Regions from separate parts of the Homo sapiens genome. Here region 2 is linked to region 1. Evidence: promoter capture Hi-C in human tissues and cell types (Jung and others, 2019). All regions are on one chromosome and are shown on one strand. Each heading gives the region's core, a stretch centred on a gene start or on the middle of the fragment in contact. The rest is flanking DNA. Distances are from core to core; before and after follow the strand shown. Region 1 holds the start of FBLL1 (fibrillarin like 1). Region 2 overlaps WWC1 (WW and C2 domain containing 1).

Region 1 (6,575 bases), core at 311-2,810:
TAACCTTTCTATCTTCTCTATCTCATTTTTGCCTCCCCAACATGTGCTTCCTGGGATCACCTCACAAACCAATTGGACTCAAGGCTTTGTCTCAGGATCTCTATTATTCAAGGTTCTCCAAAGACACAGGCCTGTAGGATATATATATGTGTGTATATATAGGATATATATTGGCTCATGTGATTGTGGAGACCAGCAGGTCCAAAATCCGCAGGGCCAATGTCCCAGTCCAAAGGTTGTCAGGCAGAAAGAGCTGATGTGCCAGTTGAAAGGCCCTTGGGCAGGAGAATTCTCTCTTCCGTGGGGAAGGTCAGCATTTTGCTTTATTTCTGCCTTCAACTGATTAGATGAGGCCCAGCCACATCGTAGACGGCAATCAGCTTTACTCAATATACCAATTTAAATGTTAATCTCATCAAAAAACACCCTCACAGAAACACTCAGAATACTATTTGACCAAATATCTGGGCATCCCATGGCCCAGTAAAGTTGACACATAAAATTAACCCTCACAGACACCAAGTGTAGTTCATCATTTTGGAAAATATTCACCTTATAGCAAGAATGGAAACCTCTAAGTAGAGTATTTTATGTGAACCATTCAACCTCAGGAATCATACATTTCACTCACTGATCCCTTGTTCACATTCCAGTGTATAAAACTCTGGTCCCCATTAAGGAGACACTCCAGTCCTCAGGGAAAATCAGACCTGGCACTGTCGTCCATGAGTATGAGACGGGAAGAGCTGTGGTCCAGGATGGAACGGAAGTCATACTGCACATACCAGGTGTTCAGTAAATGCTCCGATCTTCAGGTGCGCGTTGTCTCTCTCTCTCTCTCTCTCGAGTAGACACTTAATTCAACTAACGGGAGGCTGGCCAGTTGTTTCACCACCTATCCTACTTTCCCCAGCTCTTGTGTGGTTCCCAAAGCCCCTAGCAGTAGCCAAAACGGGGGCCCCAACTGCTGTCGCTGTCCCTGGTGCTGACTAAACCCTAAAGCCTCTGCGTTGCGGCCTTGGGGCCATTGGTGGTGCCGAGTTATTCTTTTATTTTCTTTCTGTTCTTTTCTTTTTTTCTTTTCTTCTCGTTGCTGCCCTTGGTGCTGCCCAATTATTCTTTTCTTTTCTTCTCCTCTCCCTCTCTCTCTTTTCTTTCTCTCTCTTTCTTTCTTTTTCTCTTTTTCTTTCTTTCCTCAAGAAAATGCTGCAGATTTAGAGAGTGACTTTGAAGCATAGACTAGACTTCGAGGATGAACATGACATTTTGGCTCTCTGTGTATCCCCATTCACACTGAAGAATCAACAACACTTCCTTGCTGATCAATAGTCCCAGAACTGGTGGCACAGCCAGGACCGACGCTGATGCTTACCTCCCCCTCTCCTGCAGCAGAGACGCCCCCGTCCCTGTGGCCCAGGGAAGTGCCAGGGATCCCTGGGAAGGCGGGAGATGGGGAAGGGGCAGGGTGAGCGAAGAGGAGCAGGCTGCGTCTGCACGCGGGCTGGGAAGCGGGGCTTCCGGGCCGCAGGGTCGCGGGGACGGGTGTGATGCAATCGCGCCACAGCCGCTGCGTCAAGGGGCGGCTCCGGGATGCGGGCACTGCGGTAGAGCCCGTCCTGCCCCCGCCGCCCGCCGCCCGCCGCCCGCCTCCGCTGCTAAACCCGCGGACAACCGCCGGGACGACCACCCAGAGCCACCAGAGCCCCCTGACACCCGCCCCGAGGCACCGGTAACCCACGGCACCCGCCCCGGTGCGTGCCATGAAGTCGGCCGCGAGCTCGCGCGGGGGCGGTGGGGGCGGCCGCGGGGGCGGCGGCTGGGGCAGCTGGGGCGGGGGCCGAGGCGGCGGCGGCGGCGCGGGCAAGGGCGGCGGGGGCGACGGCGGCGGCCAGGGGGGCAAGGGCGGCTTCGGGGCGCGGGCGCGCGGCTTCGGCGGGGGCGGCCGGGGCCGGGGGCGCGGCGGCGGCGACGGCAAGGATCGCGGCGGCGGTGGACAGCGGCGGGGCGGCGTGGCCAAGAGCAAGAGCCGCCGCAGGAAGGGCGCCATGGTGGTGTCGGTGGAGCCGCACCGGCACGAGGGCGTCTTCATCTACCGCGGGGCGGAGGACGCGCTGGTCACGCTGAACATGGTGCCGGGCCAGTCTGTGTACGGCGAGAGGCGCGTCACGGTGACCGAGGGCGGCGTGAAGCAGGAGTACCGCACGTGGAACCCGTTCCGCTCTAAGCTGGCCGCGGCCATCCTGGGCGGGGTGGACCAGATCCACATCAAGCCCAAGTCCAAGGTGCTGTACCTGGGCGCCGCGTCGGGCACCACCGTCTCCCATGTCTCCGACATCATTGGCCCAGACGGCCTGGTCTACGCCGTCGAGTTCTCCCACCGCGCCGGCCGCGATCTGGTCAACGTGGCCAAGAAGCGCACCAACATCATTCCGGTCCTGGAGGACGCGCGGCACCCGCTCAAGTACCGCATGCTCATCGGGATGGTGGACGTGATCTTCGCCGACGTGGCCCAGCCGGACCAGTCCCGCATCGTGGCCCTGAACGCCCACACCTTCCTGCGCAATGGGGGCCACTTTCTCATCTCCATCAAGGCCAACTGCATCGACTCCACCGCATCCGCCGAGGCTGTGTTTGCTTCTGAGGTGAGGAAGTTGCAGCAGGAGAACTTGAAGCCTCAAGAGCAGCTGACCCTGGAGCCCTATGAGCGGGACCACGCTGTGGTGGTCGGGGTCTACCGACCTCTTCCCAAGAGCAGCAGCAAATAGCACCCAGCTCAGGCTCGCCTGCCATCTCCCCAAGGCTGCGTTGTGTTTGCTATTATTTTCTGTGTGTTTTCTTTGTGAGTGTTTTGTTTTGTTGTTTTTCTATTAAACTGCATAAAGAAACGGCACCTATCTGTATGGTGATGCCAGGCTAGGTTTTGCTGCAGTAACAATCAACCCCCAAATCCCAGTGGCCTAAACCGGCTGGTATAAGGGGCCCATCCAGCAGTAGCCTGGGAGCTGTGCTCATTCTAATCACTCAGGTCTCCAACTCCCCAGGGCCCCATTTTCACACATGCTCCCCCCATCCCTAGGGCAGAGGAAAGAGAGCTGCGGAATTGCTAATAAAAGCTTTTAAATGTCCCCTTGGAACTGATGGGGCACTTCTGCTCACATTTGGCCAAGTCACATGACCCAGCCTGACTCGGGAAAAACACTGAATGTTGGTGGACAATAATATAGTCAAACACACCAATCATCTGACTCACAGCCAAAGTCTTAACCACAATAGGTTTTTAGTATTTTACTCTTCAACTAAGCCCTTTTGCATTCACTGTTAAAGTGAATAATAAATAAATGTTAAATTTATTCCTCACACCAGCCCTGAGATGGCTTTGTTAGCACTTGCATATTACATGTGAAGCAACAGGGCTTCTGAAGGTAAACTATTTTGCCCAAACGTACATAGCCAGTAAGGAGGTAGAACTTAAATGCCAGTCTTCGGGGCTCTAAATCCATTGCTGTTTCCTCAGCACCAGGGGGATCTTGTCTCTGGTCCCCAACCCCTATGGCATGTGCACAGGGACACACTTAGAGCAGGGCCCTGTGACCTTATTGTGTTCTTTCGCCCTCCCCTGTCCCCCCCGGGCTACCCCTTTGTTTGGTTTCACAATAGCAAAACAAGATGCGGGGCAGATGTGGGTCTAGCTAGCAGACTGTCTCTACTACAGGGCATAACATACCCAAAGTGGTATCACCAAGTGTCTGCAGAACAGGCAGACAAATTACTCCCAGAAAGTATCTGTCTTTGCAAGGCATGTCCTGCACTTCCCAAGTTGCTGGTCTCAGTACCTCGCAGTCTCTCTCCAAAGCAGCCCAAAGGGAAGGGAGAGTGGGTAATCCGAGGAAAGCTGAGAATGCCCCAAAGGCCCAGTAAATCCCTCCAAGCCAGACTTTTCATTCATTCATGCATGCATGCATACACACTCCCAACTGCCAAAAAGACCCACATCAACATTTAGTCTTTGAATGATTGCTCACTAATGTATCATTTGGAGGGTGGATTTGCCTTTCTAAAGATGTGCTTGGGCAGCAATTGTGGTTAGTCTGCTTTTTCTGAGGGCATACTTCTTGAACAACAACAAAGGATAAATCAGACTTTTTATTTTTGTTTTATTTTATTTATTTTATTTGAGACAGGTCTTGCTCTGTCGCCAAGGCTGGAATGCAGTGGCGCAATCATGGCTCACTGCAGCCTTGAACTCCTAGGCTTAAGTGATCTTCCTGCCTCAGCCTACCACACCTGGCTAATTTAAAAAAAAAATGTTTGTGGAGAAACAGTGTCTCGCTTTGTTGCCGAGGCTGGTCTTGAACTCCTTGCTTCAAGAAATCCTCCTGCCTCAGACTCCCACACTGGGATTAGAGGCGTGAGCTATGGCACCTGGTCCAAATCAGACTTTTGAAAAGGCTGCCACTCTTTCACCACTCCCCCATCCTACGCCACCCCAAAATTCAGAAAGGGAATTACAGTTCAGATGTATCAGCAAGACTGACTCAGGAAGAAGAGAGTGAATGCCGTACATGTCTATTTCCATAAACAATGGAAATCTTCATTACAACCCTGCAAAGCCAGGATCACTTTTCCTATTTAGCATATAAGAACACTGCAGTTCAGAGATGAAAGTGCCTGGTTTAAGATCCCCCAGAAAGGCTCACAGCCAGAAATCACAGCTTTGTTAGTCTGACTCCAAAACCTATGTCATTTTCACTGAAGTCTGTGCTGGTTCTGTTGCCTTGAAAAGCCCTCTCTCCAATCCTAGGCTAATTTATTAGTTGCTGTGATGAAGCCCTGAGGCTGGGGTGGACTCCCTGGGAACAGGAACTGTTTCCTCACTAGGGGAAGACAGAAGCAGCTGGGTACTCAGGAGGGAGGGGCTCTGCAGCAGCTGAGGCCCATGACCCAGCCCCTCCTCAGAGCCAGATGGGCTCCATAAAGGAGCTCTTGATTGCTCCTTAAAGGTTTTTCCCCCCAGCATGGGGGATGAAGCAGGGGAAACTCTACCTCCTTCCTTGGCATGGGAACTCCCATTCCCTGCCCCTCCTGCCGCAAGTGAAATTTAAAGTCATGTCTGAAGCTTCTCAAAGAGGGAACCATTCATGAGGAAATGGCAACAAAACAATCTCCTGAAGAATTTCCCTGCATTGCAGATGAGTTCCTGAGCCAATGGAATGACATGGTGAGTACCAGGAAAAATATAGGAATAAGGGCCAAGGGAATACAGGAAGGGAGCTGGAACCTGGTTTTAGAGGATGATGGCAGGGAAAAGAATGGGACTATAGTCTGGGCACAGTGGCTCATGCCTGTGATCCCAGCACTTTGGGAGGCCAAGGCACATGGATAACTTGAGTCCTTGAGTCGAGACTAGCCTGGTCAACATATGAAACCCCATCTCTACTAAAAATACAAAAAATAGCTGGTGGCGGGCAACTGTAATCCTAACTTCTTGGGAGGCCGAGGCAGAAGAATCGTTTGAACCTGGGAGGTGGAGGTTCCAGTGAGCTGAGATCATGTCACTGCGAGACTCTGTCTAAAAAAAAAAAAAAAAATTATCGGACTGTAACTCCAGTGGGCCTTGGGTCCCAAGAAACCTAGAAGTAGCAGTGACCCTGGTTAACAGACCTGCTCAGAGCCAGGAATGCTTCAGTGACTATCAGCTTGGGTTCCAAGAAGCCTTTACATTTGGGTCTCTAGGTATATTAGTCTTCTCAGGCTGTTGTAACAAAATACTACATGCTAGGTGGCTTAAACAACAGATACTCATTTTCTCACTATTCTGGATGGAGGCTAGAAGTCCAATATCAAGGTGCTGGAATTCAGTTTCTGGTGAGGACTCTCTTCCTGGCTTGTAATCGGCCACCTTCTTGCTGTGTCATATATGTGGCCTTTCCTCTGTTCACACACAGTGAGAAAGAGAGAGCTCTTTGGTGTTTCTTCCCCTGTTTAGAAGGATACCAATCCTGCTGGATTAGGATCCTACTCTTAGGACCTCTTTTAACCTTAATTACCTCCTTAGGGCCCTATCCCCAAATATAGTAACACTGGGGATTGGGGCTTCAATTTGTGAATTTTCTGGGACACAATTCGGTGCATAACCCTAGGGTTAGATGAGAATGTTCAGCTAAAATGACTGTCTTACTGGATTGTGAGCTTTGGCTGAGGAGACCAGTGTTTAATGTGAAAATACCTGCCAACAGCCTGGCACTAAGTGCTCTGCCTGTTTTTTTCCCCCCACCTCTTACTGTCAATAGAGAATAATAAGGTGGCTGAGAATTAAGTTTAAGACCGGGCGTGGTGGCTCACCCCTGTAATCCTACAACTTTGGGAGGCTGAAACGGGCAGATTGTCTGCGCTCAGGAGTTCAAGACCAGCCTGGGCAACACAATAAAACCCCATCTCTACTAAAATAGAAAAGAAATTAGCTGGGCATGGCGGCGTGCACCTGTAGTCCCAGCTACTTGGGAGGCTGAGGCAGGAGAATTGCTTGAACCTAGGAGGCAGAGGTTGCAATGAGCCGAGAATGCACCACTGCACTC
Region 2 (7,034 bases), core at 3,531-6,030, 66 kb before region 1:
TTGGCTTTGTTTCCCACCAAGTCATAAGGTGGGGTTTTCTCACCCACAGGATGGGATTTCAAATGCTAATCAGCAACACTTCCAGCCCCCACAGCCAAAAAATATATTTTCTGTGTAATCTAATCTTACAGCCCTGTAAGGTGAGTTGTGTGAACCCCATTTTATAGACACAGAAGCTAAGACTCAAAAACTCAAAGCACTGTGCTCTAGGTCACACAGCTGCTAAGTACAAAGCTGGGAGTCCAACTCCAAAGCCTGCAGCCTCTCTGTTGCTCAGAGCCACCTCCTGAGGGCCTTCCTCTGGCCTCCTCGGGTCTGATCGTGAGTAGCCCCTTCCACTGGCCTCTGCACAAAAGGCGTCCTCTGCTGGGTGCCTCCCTTGTTCGATCTTCATCTTCACCTATGTCACTTGGTTAGTTTTGCTGTCTTGAGTTCCCCCACTGAACTCGAAGTCCATGGATAGGGACAATGAATTACCCTTCCTACAGCTCTCCTCAGCCCCCATGTATTCATCTGAAGTGCTACCACATTTGTGGGTTGATTGACTTTGACCAAATAGACACAGCCCATCCTAAATTCTCATTCCTGAACTAGCTTCCTGTGATTCTAAATGATTTCACTGCTCTCTGCATCAGTTTCTCTAGCTATTAAATGCAAGTAATAATAAGGTGACAACATTCTCTACCATGTCTGAGATTAAATGCATTAAAGTGTCTTTATATTAGAGAAAGCTAAATTCAAGGACTTAATGTAGCTTCTGTCTTTCTTTTATATAACATAGTCTTTAACATGTAAACAACTACAACTTAAGGATCAATTATCCTGATACCCATTTCTGGTCGGTAGGACACATATCCTTCAAGTGCCACCACTGGATTAAAACAATGTAGAATAAAAGGCTGGGCACAGTGGCTCACATCTGTAATCCCAGGACATTGAGAGGCTGAGATGGGAGGATCACTTGAGCCCAGGAGTTTGAGACCAGCCTGGGCAACATGGTGAAACCTTGTCTCTACAAAAAATGCAAAAATTATCCGGGCACAGTGGCACGTGCCTTTAGTCCCAGCTACTTGAGAGGCTGAGGCGGGAGAATCACTTGAGCCCGAGAAGTCAAGGCTGCAGTGAGACGAGATAGCACCATTGCACTCCAGCCTGGGCGAAAGGAGTGAAACCCTGTCTCAAAAAAAAAAAAAAAAAAAAGAAAGAAAGAAAGAGAAAGCCCCCTTCTGGTACCACATGCAACCAGTTTATATGAATCTACCCCAGTTGTCAAGATGGCACACCCTTCCACCTGCACATTAGTTTCATCCCTGAGCCCTACTTACAGGCTGGAGCCAGGAGAGCTGGTGGCCTTGGAACCAAACAGACTGGGCCTTGAACTCTGGTTTTGATGCTCCCCAGCTGTTCAACTATACAAGCTTCTTAATCTCTCTGGGCCTCAGTTCCCATCATGTTAGGATTGTCTGAGGATTAAATGAAACTGTCACTGAAGCACCTGGCACGTAGCAGGTGCTCTATCCATGTGGCAGTCATTATTTTTACTATTCAGCGTCTGGTTCTGTTGAGGCCCTGCCTAGCCCAGTGGCTATTTCATCAGTCTGTCCCTGGAGTTGCTGTGTTTGTCAGCTTAGCAGGACTATTAATATCATTATCACAATTAATTATCAATAACCACAGAAACAGCTTCTCAGGAGACCTGCAACAGTGAACTGACAGCTGCTAGACACACAAGCACAATAGCATCGGCCTGTCACAACCCCACCGATTTTGGAAATAGGACTCGAGAAAGAAATCCCCACTCTGCTCCCACCTCCCAGGGGGTGCTGTCATCCTACCCACTCTCCCTTGCGCTCCTTAGGGGTGGGACACATTCTCAATATAGAAGCTTCCCATCCTGACTACAGGCCTGATTTCTGGTCTTAGATGGGGAATACTAGCCCTCTGGGGGGAGTATAGATAACTCAGTGATCGAGCGGATGCCCACGGGGAGAGTTACGATCTGCCCCATCATCTCTAAGGATATGGTCCCTGAGGCTTTGCCTTTAAGCTGTCTTTTTCTTTTTTAAATATCCATCTTGACAGTGGCTCCATTTGAGTCAGTAAAGGCAGGCTCCATAGACACCAGGGAAGAGTTGATGCAAATGGCCCTTTGTGTAGAAGGTTAAGAGGGCAGTATACTCTGAAGTCACGCTGGCCAGTGTCCAGCCCTGCTGTGCGGCTGACCAGCTCGCCAATCTTGGGCCAGTTCTGCAACCCCTAAGCTTCTGTCACCTCACTTGTGAAAATGGATTTGCTCCTATCACATGGGGTTGTTGGAAAGGTTCAATGGGATATTCGTGGCATTTAGCATCGTGCAGATACTAGCATGGAGATGAAGCAGTATGCATCATGCATAGTACATGCTTAACGAATGTTCACTTATAAAGAAAAGAAAGGTCAGAATGAAACCTGGGTGTTTGCAGAAGGAGAGGAAGGACTGTGCCGAGTGGAGGAACCTGACCTCCCTCTAGGCTTCAGTGCACCTTCCAGAATGCACTCTGACCATGTTTAAGATTCCATGACTTTTCTCTTGCAGCTGAATCGGAGTGATAGTGACAGCTCCACTCTGTCCAAAAAGCCACCTTTTGTTCGAAACTCCCTGGAGCGACGCAGCGTCCGGATGAAGCGGGTAAGAGAGTCACCTCAAAGCTATTTTTCTGCCTGCTCCTCCCTCGTTGCCCCAAGCCCTGTGTCCTGCACACACATCTCCTAATGTCTGGCCATTTCTCCTCAGCCACTGGCTAGAAAAATGTTGCTCTCTCAAGCATTTGCGAACAGATGTTTGTGAACTATGAGGCCTGTGTAGCCACAGGGGAAGGTGCTGAAGGGTAAATGTATTTGTCTTATTATGACAAATAGGTTAGATGAGGAGTGTGTACACTTGGCCTTGCCTTCCTAGATAGAAATCAAAGTCAGTAAGAACTAACCAACCCAGCCGGGCCCCGTGGCTCACACCTGTAATCCCAGCACTCTGGGAGGCCGAGGTAGGAGGATCACCTGAGGTCTGGGGTTTGAGACCAGCCTGGCCAACACAGTGAAACCCCATCTCTACTAAAAATACAAAAATTAGCCGGGCGTGGTAGCGTGTACCTGTAGTCCCAGGCTGTACTTGGGAGGCTGAGGCAGGAGAATCGCTTAAACGCAGGAGGCAGAGGTTGCAGTGAGCTGAGATTGCGCCACTGCACCCCAGCCTGGGCAACAGAGTGAGACTCTGTCTCAGGAAAAAAAAAGAAGAATTAACCAACCCAACAGTCATCAGTTAGAGCGCGTCATCTGACAGGAGTCTTCCTCATGCAAGACTCTGCTCAGTGTGTCTGTCGTCCAGGTTCTGGTGACAGAGAAGCTGGGTGCCTCTGAGCACCAGCCTGAAGCAGGGAAGTGCAAATGGGCTTCCCTCAGACCAGCGGGAAGCCCACAGGGAAGAGGCTGCAGACTTGCCTTGCGGAAGTCTCGCCTTTCCTAGTGGAGACTGAGCTGAGCCATCCGGATGGGGTGGGGGTAGGCAAAGGAGCGACCCCTGATTTGTCTTTGACCATTAAGGGCTGCAGGAGATGCAGGGGGCCCTCCCGACTTTGGGCTTTCAACACAACTTTAAAGCAGTTCTGTCTAATGAGTTTGCAGAACCAGAAGAAACCAGGAGCCAGAATGTCAGAAAGAAAAAAGGGGCCAGGCGTGGTGGCTCACGCCTGTAATCCCAGCACTTTGGGAGGCCGAGGCAGGTGGATCACCTGAGGTCAGGAGTTCGAGACCAGCCTCAGCATTGAGAAACTCCGTCTCTACTAAAAATACAAAATTAGCTGGGCGTGGTGGTGCATGCCTGTAATCCCAGCTACTCGGGAGGCTGAGGCAGGAGAATTGCTTGAACCTGGGAGGCGGAGGTTGCAGTGAGCCGAGATCGCGCCGTTGCACTCCAGCTGGGCAACAAGAGTGAAACTACATCTCAAAAAAAAAAAAGAAAGAAAGAAAAAAGGAGAGAGAAAGCAAAAGAGAACATGGATGGAAAAGATAGTGCCAATAGCCCCCAGTAGGGGCAGGCCCCCCACCTTTCCTGCACTGCCTGCTGACAGCCAGAATCTGGTCCTTTGCCTAACATCCTACACCTTAACAAGTCTGAGGGGGAACTGGAGAGAGGAGAGAGACAGCAACACAGGGGAGGCTACACAGGGAAGGCAGAGTGTGCGGGTGTGGGAGAAAGTGGACATGGCCTCAGGTGACAGGGACAACCAACTGCCCACTCTGGGTCCCCCACCCCAACCCCCTCTTCTGTAGCTGGCTTGTACTGCAGTCTCTGGAGCACCAAAAGTTACCTGGGGAGCTTGGTGACAATGCAGATTACAAGGCCACACTTCTGACCATTTAATTCAGGCAGCTGGCGTGGGCCCTGAAAACTGCATTTTAACAAAGCTCCTTAGGGGCTTCTGGAGCAGATGTTCATGGTCCACTCCTGCAGAAATGCCACTGATCTCCTACTTGCTCCCCCTGCGTTTCCCACAGCTCCCTTCTAAGGCAGGCCCTACAGGAGCAGGTCCCCTTCATCATCCCCTGTTCCCCTTAACCAAGAGAATGACTTAATAAGGGAGCCCCGATGGTGGGTCTGAGCCCACATTTCCCTCGGGTCCTGAGGAACAGGAGAATCCAGAGGCTGGGCCTGGGCCCTTGGGCACTGCTCCTTGCTTCCACGCACTACCTGAGCTGTGTTGTCTCTACCGCAGCCTGCCCAACTTCTGAGACTGGACAGACGAAGCAAAAGAATCTTTATTTGTTGCTCTGAGAACTTGAGCCACGTAGATCACTCAGCTGGATTTCCTTGATCCTGCTCATTTATAAGTGCAGAGCAGACCATGTTCAACCTAGAAGAGCATTCTAGAAATTCTTCCTAGAGCTGTCTTATATTCCTAATAGTATGCTTGCCAGCCGTGCAAAATGAGACTAGGTCTTATGGTAATGCTTCTTATACTGTGTCTGAAATCTCTGTATTGGTCATTGTATTTGTTTTCTATTGCTGCATAATAAATCACCACAAACTTAGCAGCCTAAAGTAATACAAATGCCTTACTTCACAGTTTCCGCTGGTCAGGAGCTTAAGCACAGGTTAGCTGAGCTCTGCCCAGGGTTTTAGCAGGCTGAAACCTCTAAGTGTTAAATGGCCACATACTCATCTGGAGGCTTGACTAAGGAAACATCTGATCCAGGCACTGCCTCCAGATGTTGGCAGAATTTATTACTTTGTATTATCTTGCTAGCTGTCAGCTGGGGGTTTAGGGGAGCACTTTCAGCTCCTAGAGGTCACTCTCAGGTTTTTGCCCTGTGACGGTCTCTACAACATGCTTTATTTACTTCTTTAAGGCCAGCAGAAGAGCCCAGCCAGGAAAAGCCCAGGCCATCTTTTAGGGGCTTACCTGATGAAAGGAGAGGAGATTATACAGGGCGTGTATATTAGCAATGGGATTTGAGAAACCATTTTAGAATTCTGACTCCCACAGTCATGAATTATTGTTTTTTAATCGTTAGTGATTTTTGATGGGAGGAGAGTTAATGATTGTATTAATCAGGGTCTTTTACGTATAGATAACTGAAGAACCCAACTCAAATACAGCTTAAAAATGAAAGAGGGAATTTATTGTCTCATTTAATGAAAAAATCCAGGATGTTGGACTACCTTCAGGCATGGCTTGATCCAGAGGTTGAAATGATGTCATCAGGCCTCAGCCCCTTTCTCATGGCATTGCTCCCTCTGTACAGCTTAATTCTCAAACAGGTCACCCCACAAGTAAAGATGACCATGATCAGTCCCAGGTTTATATCTTGAAGGCTTAGCAACCTCTGTGTAAAGACATTGTCTCTTTTCCAAGTAGTTCAGCAAAGTGCCAGAATTGAGTATTAATGGCTGGGCTTTGATAACATGCTTACCTCTGAACCTGTCACTGAGATGCAGACTGGCCAGGTTCAGGTCACATTCCTATCCCTGATGCCCCACACAAACCAGGTGGATTGAGTGCAGAGGAGGAGGTCTCCAAGGGAAGGTGAGGGCATTGTTACTCTAAGGCTGGGGAAACAAATGGTGGACAAGCAGAAACAATAGGGGCCCATTACAGGAACACAAAGTCAAGAAGACATGACTTCTGCCCTCAAGCAGGAACAGACCTGTATTGGGGAAACAACTTCAGAACAGTACAGTGACAGGAATCAATAATTGAGAACGTACATATGGAGGGTGCTGAGAGTACTGAAGCTGGCACAGTGTACAGAGAGGGCGGGTGGGGACTGCAGCCAGCTTCCTGGAGTGGAGCTTCAGCTTTACCACACATATCCTGTGGGACTTAACCTCTGCATGCCTCATCTGTGCAGATGATAACCCTCGGGACCTCCTAGGTTTGTGAAAATGAAACGAGGTTATGGAAATGAAGTGCTTAGTGCCGTTCCTGGGACATAATAAATGCCCAATAAACATGAGCTGAGTGGGAGAATTCAAAACAGGCTTCCCAGGGAAGGGCAAGCCCCATTCGGAAGGAGTGGATGCCTACAAGAGAGGGTATTTGAGGGTCAGAGGAAGAGGCTGGGTGGGCTCACTGGGCAGAGCTCTAATAACAAGAGAAGCCGTCCCCACCCCCACAGCCTTCCTCGGTCAAGTCGCTGCGCTCCGAGCGTCTGATCCGTACCTCGCTGGACCTGGAGTTAGACCTGCAGGCGACAAGAACCTGGCACAGCCAATTGACCCAGGAGATCTCGGTGCTGAAGGAGCTCAAGGAGCAGCTGGAACAAGCCAAGAGCCACGGGGAGAAGGAGCTGCCACAGTGGTTGCGTGAGGACGAGCGTTTCCGCCTGCTGCTGAGGATGCTGGAGAAGCGGGTGAGTTCTGCCTCGAAGGCAGGGGAGCCCTGCGCTCTGCCCCAGAGAGTCGGGGGGCACTGCCCCGGGGAAGAGAGGCCAGAGCTCATGATGCATCCTACAATTCCCACCACAGGTTCCACTGAGGGTGTTCCACCCATCCCTCG

What was found. Contacts are between HindIII fragments. The study calls those that stand out against the background at their distance.
Region 2: a fragment that was not itself captured here is called in contact with the fragment with the promoter of FBLL1 in region 1 in 2 of the 25 tissues and cell types used here (H1 embryonic stem cells and bladder).

What each region holds. Positions count from the first base shown.
Region 1 is chr5:168,527,745-168,534,319 of GRCh38, forward strand. FBLL1 (fibrillarin like 1) reads left to right here and starts at 1,561. Exons shown (of 1, transcript NM_001355274.2): 1 at 1,561-2,890. The coding sequence starts at 1,761. The coding sequence ends at 2,765. RefSeq lists a silencer at 720-1,014 and enhancers at 1,868-2,409, 3,265-3,434. The HindIII fragment of the contact is 8,115 bases long and covers 1-4,114 here.
Region 2 is chr5:168,458,075-168,465,108 of GRCh38, forward strand. It overlaps WWC1 (WW and C2 domain containing 1), which reads left to right. Exons shown (of 23, transcript NM_015238.3): 20 at 2,576-2,668; 21 at 6,655-6,888. Among named protein-coding and RNA genes, the nearest start is that of RARS1, 25 kb to the right of the region's middle. The HindIII fragment of the contact is 8,999 bases long and covers 282-7,034 here.